2 separate regions of the Homo sapiens genome follow, and region 2 is linked to region 1. The links are contacts of gene promoters, found by promoter capture Hi-C in human tissues and cell types (Jung and others, 2019). All regions are on one chromosome and are shown on one strand. Each heading gives the region's core, a stretch centred on a gene start or on the middle of the fragment in contact. The rest is flanking DNA. Distances are from core to core; before and after follow the strand shown. Region 1 holds the start of ARHGEF10 (Rho guanine nucleotide exchange factor 10). Region 2 overlaps KBTBD11 (kelch repeat and BTB domain containing 11).

Region 1 (2,590 bases), core at 60-2,559:
TTCATAAAAACAACTCAGTCTGATTTCATAAAATTAGCAAGTGTGAATAATAAACATTGAAAAAATATCACCTTACCTACGATTATTTTTTCCAGCCATTGTAGTCTTTCTATGTTGGCTATGATTTTTACATAGTCCAAAATTTTCAGGGAAATAACTTATTCCAGAGCACACAAGCCTTAAGGGCAGTTAATGTTTAGATTAATTTCGTGATACTTAGCATCCCAAATAGCTGTTTGTATTTCTTCTATAAAACAAGTGAAAGGGGCTAGAAATCTCTAAGAAGTCTGACAGTTCTAAAACACTGACTTAAAATTACTTCTATGATTCGGAGATTTGGGTAGGAGAAGGCATAGAAATAAATCTAGCATCTGCGAACACACTTGTTAAATGTGCTGACCAGGTAAAAGATAACATCCTTTAGTTATTTTGGTTAAAAATGTCTTTGTTTCTCGTTTTTTTTTTTCTTTAATAGTAATTATAACGATAATCTGTTTCCTTTTTAAAAGTATAAGACAAATAAATGCTCAAAGTAAACAATTCCAATAACTCAGAAGGGGCCATTCCCTGGAAAGGTCCCGGGAAAAACGAGCGCTTCCTGGCAAGAAGCAAGCTTCAAAAACTGCCTCGGAAACGTGGCTGAAGTCATCGCATTTCCAAACGCCCAAGCCTTGGCTGGTCCAGGGCAGCTGGCGCGGAAGACCCGGAACGCCCTGTGGGCAGGGCCAGCTGCGGACGGAGGGACGGGGGCTCAAGGGCGGGTCGGGTGGGGTCCCGACGCCCCCTCCTCGGCTGGGCGCACCCCGGGTGTCCGCAGGGAGGGGCGATGTTCTGGGGGGGGGAGCGTCTGCCCGACGCCCCCTCCCTCAGGTGAGCTCAGCCCGTGGGGGTCCGCAGAAAGGGCGGTGCTCTGGGAGAGGGTTAGGGTCTGCCCGGCGCACCCTCCCCAAGGGGCGCAGCTCTGAGCCGGGAGCAGGCTCTGCGGGGAGGATCCAGATGTTGGGGGCGGGGAGGGCACTCGGTCTGCCCAGCGACCCCTCCCGAAGTGAGCGCGGCCCGGGGTCCGCGGGGCAGGAGATGATCCGGGGGCGGGAGCCTCTGCCGCGCGCCCCCTCCCACGCGTGCGCAGCCTGGGCCGGGCGTTGGGCAGCGGGAGGGGGCGCGGGCGGCCACGTGGCCTCGAAGGAATGCGCGGGCGCGAGGGCAGGGCGCTGCCGAGAAACCGGCAGGCTCTGCGGCCAATGGGCGCCCGGAACGGTCTGGGCCCGCCAATGACAGCATGGTGGGTGGAGCAGGCCGTCCGGGCGGGAGGGGCTGGGCGCATCCCTGTAGCCGGCGGGCGCGCGATCCGGGACGGACGGGGTCGCGGGGGACGCGGGGGACGCGGGGGACGGCGGGGAACGGCGGGGGACGGCGGGGAACAGCGGGGGACGGCGGGGAACAGCGGGGGACGGCGGGGAACAGCAGGGGACTGCGGGTCGCGTCCTGGCCGCCGAGGTGAGTGCGGGCCCCGCGGACCGTGGGTCCCCTCGCGGGCTTCTGGTTTCCTTTGAGAGTTGCACTTCTGCCCGGCTCCCCCGAAATCGCTGGGTCCCACCCGGAGGTGGCTGCGCCCCCGACCCCCTGCGCAGATGTTTCAGGGAAGGGGCTGAGACCCCCTCCCCCCGAGCAGCTCCCCCTTCCGCGGCGCCCCCGGCCCCTCAGGATAACGGCGCGGGCCTGGGCGGGGGGAGCAGGGACTGGCAGCAGGGACCCCTGGCCCCAGGGGCAGGAGCGAACTCCGATCGGCGGAAGGAGCCCGAGGGGCGAGCTGGCTTCGCCTGGGGGGTCGTGCAGTAACTTAGATTTTCCGGTAAAGGAGAAGAATGCGGTCCGCCTCAGGATGCAGAGAAGGACCGGTGTAAGGAAAGCCGGCGTCTTTCCCCCGCACCCTACCTGTCCCCCTACCCCACCAGTTCCCCGCACCCCGTGTACCCCGCCTGTCCCTCAGCACCCCCTGTTCACTCTGCACTCCACCAGTTCCCCGCACCCCAGCTGTCCCCCCGCACCCCACCTGTTTACCCTGCACCCCAGCTGTCCCCCGCGCCGCAGCTGTCCCCCCCACACCCCACCTATTCCCCCGCACCCCGCCTGTCCCCCCGCACCCTACCTGTTTATTCTGCACCCCACCTGTCCCCTCGCACCCCACCTGTTCCCCCTGCACCCCACCTGTCTTCCCCACACCCCACCTGTTTACTCTGCACCCCAGCTGTCCCCCCACACCCCACCAGTTCCCCGCACCCCGTGTACCCCGCCTGTCCCTCAGCACCCCATGTTAACTCTGCACTCCACCAGTTCCCCGCACCCCACCTGTCCCCTCGCACCCCACCTGTCCTCCCCACACCCCACCTGTTTACTCTGCACCCCAGCTGTCCCCCCACACCCCACCTGTTCACCCGCACTCCACCTGTCCCCCCGCACTCCACCTGTCCCCCCGCACCCCACCTGTCCCCCCTGCACCTCACCTGTCCCCCCGCACCCCACCTGTCCCCCCGCACCCCACCTGTCCCCCCGCACTCCACCTGTCCCCCCGCACCCCACCTGTCCCCCC
Region 2 (2,590 bases), core at 34-2,533, 150 kb after region 1:
TGGCCATAGCATTGGACAGCACATAATAAAATCAGTTAAAAGATGTTGCTTACATTATAGTGATGTGTAGCACAGCCACGTTCGGATCAATTACAGACCGCCAAGTTGACGGTGGTCCTGTAAGATTATAAAACTGTTTTCCCTGTGTCTTTTTCATGCTTAGAAATGTGTAGATACACAAACACCATTGTGTTACAATTGCCTGCGGTATTGTGCACGCTGCACAGGTGTGCAGTCTGGAGCAGGAGTCTGTGCAGTGGAGCACAGGTGTGTAGCAGGCTGCACCGCCTAGGTGTGTAGGTGCCCTGTGTGATGTTTGCACAGTGATGAAGTTATCTAACTATCATTTCTCAGAACCTGTCTGCATCTGAACCATTCGTGACTGTATTTAAGCCAGCATTGGGCTTGGGAGGAGGGGAGAAAGCTTAAATGTTGTGGCTCTGAGACTAAAGAAATTCCCAGGGAGCAGGACTCTGTGTTGACTGATGTCTGGGCCTAACTTGAACCTCAGAGCACCTTGCTCTGGGTGGATGGAAGAATCCGGAAAGGTGGTTTGGAGCTTATCGCATCATTTGTAAACTCCAATACAAACCCGCTTCAATGGGGTTTCCATATGTTCCGGTACAGGTAGCAACCTTGGCAGTGGGAGCCCAGCAGGTCCCGTCTTTGTCCCTGTGCTGATACAGAGAGACTCTCCGTGCTGTGGACGCCTCCATCTGGGCACATGTTTCAGTTGTTTTCTAAATACCAAGAGCACAGATTGCTCAGTAATAATAGCTCTCCTGCAAATCTGGAATCACTTAGGCAGCTGCAGTGCCTCTAAGCCTCCTTGCATCCAAGGCTGTGATCAAGGAGGACTGGTGTCTGAGTGGGCTTGAGAAGGGCCCGGAGAACAGCGGGTTTCCTGATCACAAATCAGCCTGTCATTCAGCATGTGTTCCCTTGGTGACTCAGGGCGATATCTGCCCTTCTCCGGAGGTCAAGGGCTCATCGTGTCAATTGTGGTCTTGAGTTTGTTTTTTTTTTCCTCTTGAAATCATTGTAATTAAGCTAAAAGTATAGTGTTGGTATCCAGCACATGTTTGCAAAGTATTTAACAATGAGCAAAAACTTTAAGAATAAATTAAAGCATCTAGTTTACTTTTTGCCAACAGCCAGGTTCCTGCTAGAAATGATTTTGAAATAAATGTTGTCTTGGAAATAGAAACCGTTGCATGTCTTATGTGCATTTTGTTTGAAGGATTAGCATGAATTTCCTTCTCTTCTGAATATTTGTGGAGTTCCCCTGCTCCCCCACCCCCCACCCTGCTGTGGGTCAGGCTCAGTCCTAGGTGCTGGGAATACAGTTGTAAGTAAAGTCAGCCTAGTTCTCTGCTATCTGCAGCTGAGACGTTAATACAGTGAAAGGCATTCAGCATATAATTACGTTAATTCTTAGGTAATAACACACGGAGATGAGTGCGTTGAAGGAGAGGAATACATTCCCTTGAATGCACGTAACAGAGGAATGTTAGGCCGAGAACTAAGGGATGAGAGGGGTGGCTCAGGAGCCCAGGAGGGGACAGTTTGCGGGAACATTGTGTGCAAAGGCCCTGTGGTGAGGACTAGAGCACGGAGAGGTCAGTGAGGGGCGCTGGAGCAGGGTGTAGTAAAAGTGTAATGTCAGCCGATTTTATGGCTGAGTTAAATTGATGGAGCTTCACACTTTAGAGCAAGGTCCTCCAACCCATGGGCCACGAGCCACATGTGGCCCAGGACAGCTTTGAATGAGGCCCAACACAGATTTGTAAACTTTCTTAAAACATTATGAGTTTTTTTTTTTTTTAAGCTCATCATCTATCATTAGTGTTAGTCTATTTTATGTGTGACCCAAGACAATTCTTCCAGTGTGGCCCACGGAAGCCAAAAGATTGGAGACCCCTGCTTTAGAGCTTGACTGAGTTTCATATGGATTAATTTTGTAGCATGGAGACTTCCCGAGTCCTAAAGTGAAATCATTAAATAGGAAGATGCACATAGAATGTTTTGTAAATGAAAAACCACGGTGCCGATGTTAGCTGGTATTGTTACTGTTTTATTAGAAAGGTGTAGAGTCGTGGGGACATACATATGGGTGTGGTTCTATGAAGTGTACCATCTTTGTCCTGGCCACCTCCATCTCATGCTTGGACTCCTGCAGTAGTCTCTGGAGAGGCTCTGCACATCCTCTCTTTGAACAGGTCCTCCTGCAGTAGTCAGAACAATGATTTTTATTATTATTATTATATTTTGAGATGGAGTCTGGCTCTGTCATCCAGGCTGGAATCCAGTGGCACCATGTCAGCTCACGGCAACCTCCGCCTCCAGGGTTCAAGCAATTCTCATGTCTCAGTCTCTCGAGTAGCTGGGATTACAGGCGCCCTCCAGCACACCCAACTTATTTATTTATTTTTTTTTGTAGTTTTAGTAGAGATGGGGTCTCAGCATGTTAGCCAGGCTGGTCTCGAACTCCTGGCCTCAAGTGATCTTCCTGCCTTGGCCTCCCAAAGTGCTGGGATTACAGGCATGAACCACCACTCCCAGCTCAGAGCAATTATTTTTTAAAATTCTT

The links. The method cuts DNA at HindIII sites, captures the fragments that hold promoters and counts their contacts. A contact is called where the count stands out against the background at its distance.
Region 2: a fragment that was not itself captured here is called in contact with the fragment with the promoter of ARHGEF10 in region 1 in 2 of the 25 tissues and cell types used here (IMR-90 fibroblasts and neural progenitor cells).

What each region holds. Positions count from the first base shown.
Region 1 is chr8:1,822,617-1,825,206 of GRCh38, forward strand. ARHGEF10 (Rho guanine nucleotide exchange factor 10) reads left to right here and starts at 1,310. Exons shown (of 29, transcript NM_014629.4): 1 at 1,310-1,497. The HindIII fragment of the contact is 19,596 bases long and covers 1-2,590 here.
Region 2 is chr8:1,975,272-1,977,861 of GRCh38, forward strand. The region is part of intron 1 of KBTBD11 (kelch repeat and BTB domain containing 11); the gene reads left to right. It overlaps KBTBD11-OT1 (KBTBD11 overlapping transcript 1), which reads left to right. Exons shown (of 3, transcript NR_126346.1): 3 at 628-1,173. Among named protein-coding and RNA genes, the nearest start is that of KBTBD11, 2.9 kb to the left of the region's middle. The HindIII fragment of the contact is 5,247 bases long and covers 1-2,590 here.